2 separate regions of the Homo sapiens genome follow, and region 1 is linked to region 2. Evidence: promoter capture Hi-C in 16 types of primary human blood cells and fetal thymus (Javierre and others, 2016). All regions are on one chromosome and are shown on one strand. The core of a region is centred on a gene start or on the middle of the fragment in contact, and the rest is flanking DNA. Distances in the headings are between cores, read along the strand shown. Region 1 overlaps SEC11A (SEC11 homolog A, signal peptidase complex subunit). Region 2 holds the start of WDR73 (WD repeat domain 73).

Region 1 (7,761 bases), core at 81-2,580, 55 kb after region 2:
CCGGGCATAGTGGCTCACATCTGTAATCCCAGCACTTTGGGAGGCCAAGGCTGGTGAATCACTTGAGGTCAGGAGTTCAAGACCAGCCTGGCCAACATGGTGAAACCCCGTCTTTACTAAAAAAATACAAAAAATTAGCCAGGCGTGGTGGCACACGCCTGTAATCCCAGTTAATCAGGAGACTGAGGCAAGATAATTGCTTGAACCCAGGAGGCAGAGGTTGCAGTGAGATGGCACCACTGCACTTCAGCCTGGGTGACAGAGTGAGGCTCTGTCTCAAAAAAAAAAAAAAAAAAAAAAAAAAGAATATACCTGTTGATGTTAATTGCAGTTTACAATAAAATTTTACTTGTGATGTTCTTGTGTATGTAATGGGGACTGATATCAATATTTCTACATTGAAACTTGGCAATTCATTAATAAATGTTGATACCCTGCCAGTAATAAAGATTTTCCTGAACCTAAATAAGACCAGATTACTTTTCCATAATCAAAAAAAGTAGTGGCTTTATCCTCTGTGTTGGATACACCTCCTATTTGCTTCACATTTATTCCTATTAGGTCTATATCTAAGAAAAATTTCCTAGGTTTCTGTATGTTTCACTAGAGCGACAACTCGTTTAAAAAAAAAAGTATCAAAGATACCTAGGCAACAGGGCGAAATCTCAACTCTACAAAAAATACAAAAATTAACCAGGTATGAAATGGAGTCTCACTATGGTACCTGGTGTACACCTGTAGTCCCAGCTACTTGGGAGGCTGAGGTGGGGGGATAGCTTGGACCCAGGAGGTTGAGACTGCAGTGAGCTGTAATCGCATCACTGGACTCCAGCCTAGGTGACAGAGCGAGACCTTATCTCAGGAAAAAAAAAATGAAAAGAAAAGAAAAAGCTATCTAGAAATCGTTAAGATATCACTGCAATAACAGTTAAGAGTTGGGTGATACTAAGAGATAGGAAGATATAAAAAGAATGAAGGATCCTATTAAGTCTCAAGGACTTTACATTTAGGCAGGAAGGCATACAGATAATTAAAACCCAGAGAAATGCAAATTCAATCAAGCAATATAAGTGGCCTGCGGGGAGCTAAGCACACATTTATGGGAGTCTGCTTAGTCCCTTCAGGGCTCAGACAGGGATCTAGTCACATCCTGGCCAATAAAAAAAATCTCAGCAAGCAGAGAAGTCAATTCTAAAAATTACATGTGACATACATGTAACATAAAAATAATTTGGCATAACATACTTATTTTATTAGTGAGTAAATATCTTTTTTTTTTGTTTTAAGAGATGGGGCCTCACTATGTTGACCAGGCTAGACTTGAACTCCTTGGGCTCAAGCAATCATCCTGCCTCAGCCTCCCTGAGCAGCTGGTACTACAGGTGCACCACCGCACCTAGCTATCATTTTTATCCCCAGAATGATTTATAATTAAAAATAGAATGTTTAAGGGAAAGCGTGCATAGTGTTAATATTCTTATGTTAAGAACTCTGTTTGTATTTGTTTTTGTTTTTGGTATTGTTTTGTTTTTTGAGATGGAGTCTCGCTCTGTCACCCAGACTGGAGTGCAGTGGTGTGATCTTGGCTCACTACGACCACCGTCTCCTGGGTTCAAGCGATTCTTCTGCCTCAGCCTCCCAAGTAGCTGGGATTACAGGTGCACACCACCACACCCCACTAATTTTTTTATTTTTAGTAGAGACGGGGCTTCACTACGTTGGCCAGGCTGGTTTCGAACTCCTGACCTCAAGTGATCTGCCGGCCTCAGCCTCCCAAAGTGCTGGGATTACAAGCGTGAGCCACTGCACCTGGCCTCTTCTGTTCATTTTTTTGAGACAGGGTCTCACACTGTCACCCAGGCTGGAGTGCAGTGGCACAATCTTGATTCACTGCAACCTCCGCCTTCCAGGTTCAAGTGATTCTTGTGCCTCAGCCACCTGAGTAGCTGGGATTACAGGCGTGTGCCACCACACCTGGCTAATTTTTGTATTTTTAGTAGAAATGGGGTTTCGCTATGTTGCCCAGACTGGTCTCAAACTCCTGGGCTCAAGCGATTCATCCATCTCGGCCTCCACCATTACAGGCGTGAGCCACTGCACCCAGCTATATTTGGTATTTTAACTTTTGTAAAATTTAAGAGAATTTGGCCTAGTGAAGTAATAAGTCAGCCTTAAAAATTCAGTTTAAAATGTGTAATCAGTTGTTTTAGATTATGTGAATCAGAAAGTTTCCTATTTATATACAGTGCTGAAACATTTTAAGAGAACTTAAGAAGTCTCAGATCTATAAAAATTATATAAGTAGTCCATGTTTGTTGAATAATCAAAGTTCTTTAAAATATTTTTTTAATTTATAAAGTTTAATTATTTTAAGATGTTTAACTTTGAAATTAAACCAAACATAGGCTCTTAAAGGTGATTGTTGGCTGAGTGCAGTGGCTCACACCTGTAATCCCAACACTTTGGGAGGCCAAGGCAGGCGGATCACTTGAGGTCAGGAGTTCGAGACCAGCCTGGTCAACATGGTGAAACCTCGTCTCTACTAAAAAAAATACAAAAATTAGCCGGGAGTGGTGGTGCACGCCTATAATCCCAGCTACTCTGGAGGCTGTGGCAGGGGAATTGTGTGAACCTAGGAGGCAGAGGTTGCAGTTGAGCCTAGATGGTGCCACCACACTCCAGCCTGGGCGACAGAGCAAGATTCTGTCTCAAATAAAAAAGTGATTGTTAAAATTTGCTACACTTTAAATAGGATAAGATTTGTAAACAAATTCTACAAGTTTAAGAAAGAATTTAGTTTTAAAATTTTAGGTTTTATAATTATTAGAACTAAAGATAACTCTAAATAGGTTTTTCTGCACACAAAAACCACCTCAATGTGCATTGAAAAACACACATATCTTTGGGAGGCCGAGGTGGGCAGATCACGAGGTCAGGAGATCAAGACCATCCTGGCTAACACAGTGAAACCCCGTCTCTACTAAAAATACAAAAAATTAGCGTGTGATCACACGCACCTATAGTCCCAGCTACTTGGGAAGCTGAGGCAGGAGAATCGCTTGAACCCGGGGGGCGGAGGTTCTAGTGAGCCGAGGTCGAGCCATTGCACTCTAGCCTGCAAAACAGAGCAAGACTCCATCTCAAAAAAAAAAAAAAATGCTCATATTAAGGCTGGGCGCAGTGACTCACACCTATATTCAATCCCAGCTCTTTGGGAGGCTGAGGTGGGCAGATGGCTGAGCTCAGGGGTTCACAACCAGCCTGGGCAACCTGGTGAAACCCAGACTCTACAAAAAACACAAAAATTAGCCAGGTGTGGTGTCACTGGCCCGTAGTCCCAGCTACTCCAGAGGCTGAGGTGGGAGAATCACTTGATCCCGGAAGGAGGAGGTTGCAGGGAGCCAAGATCCTGCCGCTGTACTCCAGCCTGGTCAACAGAGTGAGACCCTGTCTCAAAACAAACAAACAAACAAAAATTAAAAAAAAAAACAAACCTCTCATACTAATCAGTGGTGTGCTGGAACAAGCTTCCTAAATTTTCAGCAATTCTGCAAGCTGGTTGTTAAACACAGTGCTGTTAAAAAACTAGAATAATAAATTATATTAAAGGCCAGGCACAGTGGCTCATGCCTGTAACCCCAGCACTTTAGCAGCCTGAGGCGATCAGATCACTTGAGGTCAGGAGTTCAAGACAAGCCTGGCCAACATGGTGAAACCCCCATCTCTACTAAAAATACAAAAATTAGCCAGACGTGGTGGCGCACACCTGTAATCCCAGCTACTTGGTTGCGGTGAGCCGAGATCACGTCACTGCATTCCAGCCTGGGTGACAGAATAGAGCGAGACTCTATCTCAAAAAAAAAAAAAAAAAAAAGAAGCCGTACTCCAAACAAAGGTAAGAATACAAATAAAATAGTATATGACTATTAGCTAAAAGGACCTTAAAGATCACCTAATATTCTAGGGTGGTACCCAGAGACTAAGAAAGAATACAAGCAGCACTGTTAAAAATCAATTAATTTAAACAACTTGGCTGGGTGTGGTGGCTCACATCTGTAATTCCAGCAGTTTGAGGATCCGAGGTGGGAGGATCACTCGAGCCCAGGAATTTGAGACCAGCTTGGGCAGAATAGCGAGACTCCATCTCTACAAAAAATACAAAAATTAGCCAGGCATGGTGGCACACATCCATAGTCCCAACTACTCAGGAGGCTAAGGTGGGAGGATTGCCTGAGCCCCAGGAGTTCAAGGCTGCAGTAAGCTGTGATTATGCTACTGCACTCCAGCCTGGGCAACAGAGAGAGACCTTGTCTTAAAAAAAAAAAAATTCTAAGAAACCCAACATACCTCTACCTCTATTACAAAGCCCAGAATCCAGTACACTGACAACATGAAATACTGGGGAGGATGTGGAGCAACAGGAACTCTCATTCATTGCTGGTGAAAGGCAAAACAGTACAGCCATTCTGAAAGTGTTTTATGGTTTCTTACAAAACTGAAACATACTCTTTTCTTTTTTTTCTTTTTTTTTTTTTTTTGAGATAGAGCCTTGCTCTGTCGCCCAGGCTGGAGTGCAGTGGTGCGATCTGGGCTCACTGCAACCTCTGCCTCCCAGGTTGAAGCAATTCTCCTGCCTCAGCCTCCTGAGTAGCTGGGATTACAGGTGCGCACCACCATGCTCGGCTAATTTTTGTATTTTTAGTAGAGACAGGGTTTCACCATGTTGGCCAGGCTGGTCTTGAACTCCTGAGCTCAGGCAATCCACCTGCTCGGCCTCCCAAAGTGCTGGATTACAGGCATGAGCCACTGCGTCCAGCCTAAAAACTGATTAAAACTCCAAAGAATACATACTCTATGATTCCATTTATATAAAATGCATACCCCTCTATACTGACAAAAAGCACATTAGAGGTGGGACAGAACGGGTCTTGTAGGTGATATATACGTTCTATATCTTGATTGTGATCAGTATACGTAAGTATAAAAACTTATCGGCCGGCCGGGAGCAGTGGCTCACGCCTGTAATCCTAGCATTTTGGAAGGCCGAGGCAGGCGGATCACAAGGTCAGGAGATCAAGACCATGGTGAAACCCTGTCTCTACTAAAAATACAAAAAATTAGCCGGGTGTGGTGGCGGGTGCCTGTAGTCCCAGCTACTTGGGAGGCTGAGGCAGGAGAATGGCGTGAACCTGGGAGGTGGAGCTTGCAGTGAGTCAAGATTGCACTACTGCACTCCAGCCTGGGCAACAGAGTGAGACTCCGTCTCAAAAAAAAAAAAAAAACACTTATCAAATGGTACACTTTAAATGGATGGAGTTCATTTACTAAAGTATTCCTCTGTGGATCTGATAAGAAAAAAAAAACAAAAACTCAAAGCAATCAGACATTTAACATATATGTAATATGTAATTAGGTATAAGCAGAGAAGTTATGCAAATAATAGCAACTTTTAGAGGAATAAAACAAAATTCTAGTTTCCCTCTTTCGTCTGATTCTCAGTATCTACATGTATTGTCAATTCTTCCTCCTAGATATTATGTACAGATAAAGATCTCATTTCATAACTCTCCCTCACCCCATGTTATCCAATCCCTCCTATCCATTCCTAACAACCTCTGGGAGGCCAGGGAGGATAATTTTACCATTTAAACTTCCACTAACCCTGAATGTCCTAGATGCAATGAATTCTGAACCACAATCACTCCATATTAGAGAAACACAGGGCAGAGTAGCCTATTCATTGTATCTTCATGTTTCTGTTCTTTCTTCCTGTCCATTTTATTAGAGCAGGAAGAGTACCTTATATATCTCTATGCTTTAGAGCCTATCTAGCAGGTTTGCAAGTGCTGAGTGAATTCCTTCCCTTTTGATTATTGGAATGCTAACCAACCCAGGTTAAAGATGAAGCTATTAAGGTCTTTCAAGATCCAACTTAAATGCTAGTTTCTCCTTGAAGCTGTTCGTAATGCCCTGACTGGAACCTCTCAAAATTTTCCTACCACTGCTAGAACAGGTCATATCCTTCTTTATCCAAGTGTTCAGGCTTTAAAGTAAGACCTGAGATCAAATCCACATCCTGCCATATACCTTCTTTTTTTTTTTTTTTTTTTTTTGAGACGGAGTCTCACTCTGTCACCAGGCTGGAGTGCGGTGGCACGATCTCAGCTCACTGCAATCTCCACCTCCCAGGCGATTCCCCTGCCTCAGCCTCCTGAGTAGCTGGAACTACAGGCGTGCGCCAACAGGCCCAGCTAGTATCTGTATTTTTAGTAGAGAGGGGGTTTCACCATGTTGGCCAGGATGGTCTCAATCTCTTGACATTGTGATCCGCCTGCCTCAGCCTCCCAAAGTGCTGGGATTACAGGCGTGAGCCACCGCACCCAGTCTACCTTCTGTCTTAAGCAAATCACTAAAGCTCTCTAACAATGACATCGACCACAGTACAGCCAATACTCACCATGTGCCAGACACTCTTCTGAGGGCTTTATATGAATTAACTCATTTAATCTTCATAGCGACCCTACGTTTGCACAACATAGTGAATGCAACTAATGTCAGTGAAGTATACACGTAAAAACGGTTGAAATGGAATATTTTATGTTGCATATCTTTTTACAACAATAAAAGTAAACATAGGCACAGACAGGTTAAGTAATCTGCTCAAAGTCACACAGCCAGTAAGTAGCAGAGCTACTTCAAACCTCTGAAATCTAGCTTTAGAGTCCATATTCTTAACTTCTATACTGTATTGCTTCTCACAAAGTCTCATTTTCTTCATGTTTAATAAGAACAACGTTACCTACCTTACAGGTGTATAAAGTGCTTCACACATGGCAAGAGCTCAAAAAAGTTATTGTTTTGCCTTAGTCCTTTTCTACACATTTAGGCTCCTTGAAGGCCGAGTCTTTCTTAACTATCTTTGCATTTCTCTCATTGTACCTAGCATAGAGTACAATAAATATCAGACTCAAAATAAATACTTTCCTCAGAGAAATATCTGTGGCATCTAGAAATCCAAATATGGATTAAAAAAAGACAACACTATACAAGTAAAAATTTGAAGTGTTGTCATAAAGACATAAAGTAACGTTTGCGCAATTTTTATAGAATGCTCAATTCTGACTGACAGAATTGACACTGAGCTAGCTAAGGCCTGAAGGGGAGTAAGGAAAGGTTGTGTATCTACTTCCCTAAGTGGCAGTTATAAGTACAAAAAATGCAAGTCCAAGGAAAAAAAATCCTTAATGGTGACATCAGGATAATCATAACAGTAAAATACTGTTTAAAACAAAAAAAAAGTCCGATGCAGCAAAACTAGGCTCTACAGACACACTAGGCGCAAAAGATAAAACAGAACAACCTTTTCTAAGGACTAAATAATTACAACAATATTCTCAGTACTATTTGGCATACGATCTAGAAGATCAAAGTAAAGTGTAAGGACAAAATCAGGAGACCTACATTTCCAGATCCCCGTGGCACTGATATTGGACTGTAAAACCATAGATTCCGAGGGCTGCCGCCTTAGTGCTAAGCGGACGCAAGGGCAAGTAGTGTAACTGTTCCAACTCGGAGCCCAGAGTGGTCCAAGTCAAAGTCGGTGCAGCCCGCTACGGTTCAGCTCTACTAAAGGGTTGCAAGGAGCTGAAAGCAGCAAAACGGTTTTTGTGGGGCCTCCAATCGCCTTCCTGAGCGCCCCAGAAACCGGCTAAACCTCGTCTCTCCCGAAACCACCTGGAGTCGCTCCGACTGGAGAAATCA
Region 2 (7,164 bases), core at 412-2,911:
TCCAGGACAATACCTGGTAGATAACAGGAGCTCCACAAATGTTTAATAAATAAATAAAAGTTGACATACTCAGCATTTATATTTTAAGTTACCTTGTTTTCCTTTACAGAAAGTCTGAGAGGTAATTTCAGATGAAGAATTTCATTCTTTTTCAGGCTTTCATAGCCAGCAACAAAGACTCCTGGAAAAAGAAGCAGAGGTAGCTGTCACAAATTGTTAGAAAGATTGCAGACCATGCAATCCCCCGAAGTAAGGATACATTCCTTCACTGTGCAGCCTTGTATGGAGGAATTGAGTACCTGGTTGTGTCTTTTTCAGACAAGGTCTCGCTGTGTCAGCCAGGCTGGAGTGCAGTGGTCCGATCACAGCTCACTGCAGCCTCAACCTGCCAGGCTCAAGTGATCCTCCCACCACAGCCTTCAGAGTAGCTGGGATTATAGGCGTGAGCCACCATGCTCGGCTAATTTTTGTATTTTTTGTAGAGACAGGGTTTCCTTGCTTAGGTTAGTCTCAAATTCCTGGGATCAAGCAATCTGCCCGCTGCCTCAGCCTCCTGAAGTGCCCAGCCTGAAGACTTTTTTTGTTAGCCACGCTGGAATACAGTGTCGTGATCTCAGCTCACTGCAACCTCCACCTCCTGGGTTCAAGTGATTCTCCTGCCTCAGCCTCCCCAGTAGCTGCTGGTACACAGGTGTGCACCACCTCGTCCGGCTAATTTTTGTATTTTCAGTAGAGACGGGGTTTCACCATGTTGGCCAGACTGGTCTCGAACTCCTGACCTCAGGTGATCCGCCTGCCTCGGCCTCCCAAAGTGCTGGGATTACAGGCGTGAACCACTGCTCCCGGTCAGAGATCTTAATAAGAGGAATATTAGTGCTGATGGGGCATCAAATTGCTACAAGTGACTCTCAGGTGCCCAGAAGAGTGGGTTGGGTCCCTCTAGGCTTAGCTCCTGAAACCCAGCTCAGGAGTGAGATTCCCTCTCCTTCAGGGCTAGAAAGGTATACCACCTTTGTCATCAATCCATTCAAGGACTCGAGTGGCTCCTGACAGGTCGAATGCATAGAAATCCTGGTACCTGCACAAAAGGGACACAGAATCACACGATGCACAGCACTTCACAGCTCAAAGAACTCCAAGATGGCAGCCGCATGGTTCAGTGGCCCAAACTCTGGAGTCAGGCAGACGTGGGACTGAGTTTACTTCCCATTTTACTCCCTGTTTCTGGGACCAGGCCAGTCCCTTGATGTCCCTGAGCCTCGGTCCTCATGTGTGGACGTCCCAGGGTACCCAGATTTCCCAAGGTTGACGTGAGGAATCAATGAGATCATCTGTGTTCTGAGCTGAACTCAGAGGCTGGCGCAAACTAACTGGGCACTGCGTCTTCACAAGCGCGGCTCTTACTAGTAATCTCACAACGCGCGCACGCAGGAAGGAGCCATTTCCTAGAGATGGGGGCCTAGGCCCAGGCGGAGTCCTCCACGGTGGCGAGCCCCGAGGCCACAGCTGGCCCACTCTGCACCAGGATCCCCAACGTGCCTCCACCCACACCCATCCGCCCGCCAGGCAAGCTCCAGGCCCAGCTCCCATGTCCCAGCCCCGTACGATTTACAAGCGCAAGGATTCCACCAGCCAGTCGTCCCCAGGATCCATGGCAACGACCGCTTCCGGCGTCTCACTTCCGCCTGCGAGCCTTCGGGGGCCGCGCGGCTCTCGCGAGATGTGGGCAGGGCCTCCCGTTAGGGGCGGGGTTAACAGGCTGAGCTGCGGCCCGGCATGGGTGGGTTACGGGTTTTCTCCGCGAAAGCTCCGGGAAAAGTGACCTGAAATCGGGACTTTCCCGCTGTCAGCTCCAAGCAGGACCTGAGGACCAAATGATCGCCCGTTTTAGGGCCAGGTGTTTGCAGCCCAAGAGAGGGGCAATGAATGCTCCAAGGCCAGAAATAATACAGGACCGCCCGGTTAAATTCGAATTTCAGAAAAACGGTGAATAATTTCTTTCTTACGAGTATGTTCATGCAATATTTGGTACATTTTATTAGATAAAATTATTGTTTATCTGAAATTCGAATTTAACTGGGTGTCCAGTATTTTTATTTGCTAACGCTGGCAACCCTTCTGACGGCCAGAGAAGAGAGGAAGCGGCCGGCAGGGTCTGGATCCCAACTCGGCGCTCCCCTCCAAGTCCGGCGGGGGTATTGAGTAAAGCCCGGCAGTGTAGTGTCTGCAGCCCCCTTTTACTAGCGAGGAAACTAGTGACACTTGCCTGCGCCAGTAGGTGGCAGAGATGAGAGTAGAACCCCGCGCCTGGCACGAAGCCTGGCATGCAACAGGCGTTATTTGCTTGCTGAATGAATGGGTAGGAGGCCAGAGTCAGTGCCAGGCTGGTGCCATGGCATGGGGTATTCTGGACTTTTTGAGCCAGCCCCATCTCACTGAACACTCTGCCCTCCAGCCCCCTTTTCCTCCCATCCCCTAAAAGACGGGTGAAAGGAGAGGACCAGGCATTGTATGTAAAGAGCAAGGTTTTATTCACCAATTCAACAGGGAAGCAGGAAATACAGCAGGAACATAATCTGTGTCTGCATCAGCGATATTTCTGGTGACCCAGCCAGAAATCACAGTAATGGAGTAACAGAGATTTGAGCTCAGGATTTACATCCAGATGGGGCCATCAACAGGGTCCCATTCAGCACCTTCCCTGGGTGGGCACAATCTAAGCCACGCTGTTGTGTCTGCCCCATTATTGGTGTCATTTCTGCAGTATTTGTACCAGCAGCCTCCTGTACTGAAGAGAAACATACAGAAGAATTGAGCCAGGGAGGGGCTCCTGATAAAGATAGGGGCATCCTGCCATTCCTAAGTGCCAGATGTCTGCAGAGGTGGGCACCAGCAGGCTGTCAGCTGAGGCAGGCCCCAGAGCACCCTGAATTGCCTTGGAGGGGTCGGGGCAGTAGTTTTCTCAGAACACAGCCCCAACCACCCAGGGTGGTCATGACAGTCAAAGAAGATCGTGGAAGAAAATCCAAATACAGTGCTTGGTGCTGGGCTAGTGTCAGCGTCCTCACTCCCCCACCCCAGCTCTGCCCCAGACCTCACTCTGAAGCCCCAGACGTAGGCACTGCTGCTTCTGAGATTCTCTAGTTGGTCTGCATGTGTCAGAGCTTCAAAACCAAGGGCATTAGAGGTGACATTGTTTCCCTTCAGACTCAGCCAGCCCAAGCTCCTAGGCCTTACATCTGAGGTCCTCAGGGGCTGCTGGTTCTGTGCCTCAGGAAGTCAGGGATGTTGGTTGAGGCTGGGTTGGACCTTTTCTAGGGAATGCCTCTCCCTTCAAAATGCACACACTATATGCTAGGCACACTGGGGGATATGAAGGCGAGTCTACAACAGGTGCCGCCAGGGAGCTCACAGACTGATAAGAGCTCGCATCTACTAAGGGCTGTCTATGAGCCAGGCACCATGCTGAGCATTTGACATAAATGGTCTCATTTAATGGGAGATGGGCCTTATTATCTTCATTTTATGGGTGAAGAATATTGAGGCTTTAGAGAAGTTAAGGGACATTTCTAAGGTCATACAGCTACTAAGTAGCTAGGTTATGAGCCCAGCACGTTGTAGTCAAAACCCACATTCTACCACATCACACTGCCTTCTGCACACAGCAGCAGGACCAGGGAGGGTGGTGTGCAGTAAGGACAGCACCAGGAGCAGGGAATGAAGGAGTTGCCACTCAGCGGGGCTATACCTTGAGGCTAGCTTGGCTCCAGCTTTGGAGTCTTGAATCCCATAGATCAGTGACTGACAACCAATAATGATTTGGGGCCCTCTCCCCCAGCAGACATCTGGTGATGTCTGGAGGTCTTTTCAGTTGTCACAACTTGATGGGGGGGAAAGATGCTACTGGCATCTAGTATGTAGAGACCAGGGATGCTGCCAAACATCCCATGATGCACACGTCAGCCCTCACAAGAAACAGTGATTCAGCCTAGAACGTCAAATGTACTGAAGTTGCTAAACCCTACCACTGGATACTGAGGCAGATGAGAGAATGGGAAGAGCTCCAGTCCAGGTGAACAAGGTCCAGACTCTGTCTTGGCTGCTGACTTCTCTTTCCCTCTCTGGGCCTCAGGGTCCCATTCCGGCCACAAGCATACACAGGACACAGCAAAGGTGGACTTGACTAATGCAGCAGGGAACAGCATGGGTGGGACAAGACTGTGTAGACTGGGGGAGAAAGGTCCTGCTCCAAAAGGCTGATGATCCCAGTCTGTTACTTTAGACTGGGTGATGAGTCAGGGGAACTTCTTTCCCTACTTCTTGCCCCATGGGGTCTACTGGGAAGGTCAGCTTCCTTTCTTTGGACTGTTCCTCCTTTGAGCTCTGCCTCAAGAGGGAAAAGCCTGGAAACCTGGCTTTCTGGGGTCCACACCCATAATGTCCTAGTCAGACAGTCACACCCTAATACAGTACTGGGTGGTAATTCCTCCCATGCAGGATCCGGGGATGGCCCCAGCTGGGCCCTCCTGACATTGGAGCAGGGGCCCGGCTCACCTGGATTTGGGGTGCGGGGCGGCTGAGGCTCACGCCCAGAGCCTTCTTTAGCAGGAGGATTCCGAGCAGATCATGACTCAGCTGCAGTCGCTGGTCCCTCAGGGAGGTGTGGGGAGCTGTCCCCAATGGGGATGGGCTGGAAGGCTCCAGACTCTTCTTGCCCATGAAGTGACCTGGAAAGGAGGTGTCCAGGCACAAGGAAGTCAAGCAGCCAGGATCCTACCTCAGAGGAAAAGTTCCTCATCTCTCCCACGTTTCCGTTCTTGTAGCGGGAAGACACTTAACCTTCCTCCTCTTGGTGCTTCCACCTCACCAAGGAGCCACAAAGGTGTCTGGGTGGTGGCAAAGCCTGCTCCCTCAGCTTTTCCTGAACAGGTAGAGAGGATGGCACAGCTGGCAGGAAGGTGGGATGGTCCAGGGCCAGGGAGAAACTCTGCTAGTTGTGTGGGCTGCTTGGACAAGGGACGAAAAAGGGCAGGGTAGGAAGTGGAGAGTGAAGAGGCGCCTGGAAAGTGGAGGTGCAGCAAAAACACACCAGCGGTTAGAAGATTCGGTTAAGTCTCGCCTAAGGTAAGGGGCACCGGCTGGCAGTGGGATTTAGGATCTAGCCCAGCCCTGTCTTAAACTGGCTGCGCGACCTTAGCCAAGTCACTGACCTGTCCGGGTCTCAAGTACATATCTATTAAATTAGATGAGCCCCAGGGTTTTCCACCTGCTCCGACACTAGTGTCCGTGGCTGAGGAGCGGCCAGAGGGTTGAGAAGGAAATGGGGTCTGAACTGGATGAGGGGCGCTTGCTTGCTCCGTCCCCAAAGACTTACCGGTGGCCCAGAGGTTGCCTCGCGAGTGCACTCGGATCTTGCTGGCTCGGCTGCGGGGCTCCGGGAGATCCCAGCTGAGCGGGGCGACGCCGGCAGCGAGCAGGGCGAAGAGCAGGAGGCTGCCGAACATCCGAGCGCCCCCCGCCCGCCGGGCCATGGCTGTGCCCGGGCCGCGGCTTCGTTCGGGCGCGCTTCCCGGCCGCTGGGCTCCGGGGCTGCCTTCGATCCTTTTAAATCCGCGCCCCTGGGGGCGGAGCCTGCCCTGAGCAGCGGAGCCGTGCCCCGCGCCCGCCGCCCTCCCCGCCGTCCCCACCCTCCCGCTAGGTTACCAGGCAGGGGCACCCCCTTTGGGCCGCCCAGAGACCTGCACACCCACACTCTGGCCCGCACGCGGGCACCGCTTCCGCCAGGGGCTTCTGGCGGAAGCCCGCCACCTTCAGGCTAAGGACCGGGCACCGGCCAAACAGGGGCCCGGCCCCGGCGGCGGAGCCGCTTCCCCTGGCCCTGCCTTGCCACTCTGCCACGGCTTTCGGCCAAATAGGCACTTCAGCCCTCTGAGCCTCTCTTCATGAGGGTAGAGGTCGGGCGAGGAGCTCTCCTCCCGGGTAACAGGCTTTTTTTTTTTTTTTTTTTTTTTTTTCTGAGACAGGATCTGGCAGTATCGCGCAGGTTGGAGTGCGGTGGCGCGATCACGGCTCACTGCAAACTCAACCTCCAGGGCTGGGCTCAAGCCTCAGCCTCCCCAGAAGCTGGGACCACAGGCACACGCCTTCATGCCTGGCTTTTTTTTTTTTTCTTTCCAAGAGACTGGATGTCGCTAGGTTTCCCAGGCTAACAGAGGCATTTTTACAGTGTCCAGCCAAGTGCTAGGCACCAAAGGACTTCCATAAACTAATCCCCATCACCTCCGCCCTTTGGGGGAATCTGACCCGTGTTCACCTTGCTCTCTGCCCTCTCACAGCCAGCATCACAGTCTGGAAATGTTCTGGCACACAGTAGGTGCTCAGAATGGGAATGCAGAATGATGGAGGGTGGGACAAAGGGCCGCTTCTGAGGAACGGGCATCCAGCTGGAGGGCCTGGCTTATGGGCAGGAAGCAGACCTCTGGGTCAAGAAAGTGGAAAGAGCACTGCACCCAGGACTGCACTGCACCCAGGAGTCCATGTACAAGCTGTGACCCGGCTGAACCTCACTTTCTTCAACTGTAAAATGGTAATAACCACACTGCCCTAATTTTAATACTTTTACATGTTTTAGCATAAGTACTCTGTGGCCGGAAGCAACAATTCTGTAGGACCTGCCCTCTCACACCTGGCACTTTGTTCTCCCCAGGAGCTGTCTGGACTTTCTTGGAAAGAACTTCTGGATAAGTGGTATCATATAATGAGCAGAGGAAAACACTGTGCTCCAGAAGAATACATTTATGTTTGCTTAATTAACTGAAACCCATTGTTCAGAGCACTACACTAGACACAAGAAGAGGGGCGACAGATAATTCCTTGCTCCCAAGGGAGTTAACCATCTCATTGGAGAGACAAGTACACAAAGGAGAGAGTGATGGAGGAGCGGGGGTGCAGACCACCCCTTGGACTCTGGATACCTCTGGAACACGGAACAGAGTGGCCGTACCAGAACCTACTCCCATCTGGCTTGATAATGGGACCTGCTTCTAGGACTCTTGCTTAGTATCTAGCTCAGCAAGGTTGCTAGCTCTGTGGATCCTCATCCTAGAAGGGGAAGCTCACATGAAAAACTGGCTGTCATACCCAGCTGGAGGCCCAGCTTCCAGG

What was found. Contacts are between HindIII fragments. The CHiCAGO score rates a contact against its expected background, and 5 or more counts as called.
Region 1: a fragment that was not itself captured here is called in contact with the fragment with the promoter of WDR73 in region 2 in 2 of 17 cell types (neutrophils and M2 macrophages); the score reaches 10.5 in neutrophils.

Annotation. Positions count from the first base shown.
Region 1 is chr15:84,707,928-84,715,688 of GRCh38, forward strand. All of the region lies in intron 1 of SEC11A (SEC11 homolog A, signal peptidase complex subunit), which reads right to left. Among named protein-coding and RNA genes, the nearest start is that of SEC11A, 4.3 kb to the right of the region's middle. The HindIII fragment of the contact is 4,390 bases long and covers 1-3,525 here.
Region 2 is chr15:84,652,622-84,659,785 of GRCh38, forward strand. WDR73 (WD repeat domain 73) reads right to left here and starts at 1,662. Exons shown (of 8, transcript NM_032856.5): 1 at 1,613-1,662; 2 at 1,011-1,078; 3 at 93-181. The coding sequence starts at 1,653. NMB (neuromedin B) reads right to left here and starts at 5,578. Exons shown (of 3, transcript NM_021077.4): 1 at 5,375-5,578; 2 at 4,555-4,727; 3 at 2,511-2,788. The coding sequence starts at 5,531. The coding sequence ends at 2,753. RefSeq lists enhancers at 1,015-1,982, 1,409-1,648 and a silencer at 5,534-5,693. The HindIII fragment of the contact is 10,475 bases long and covers 1-7,164 here.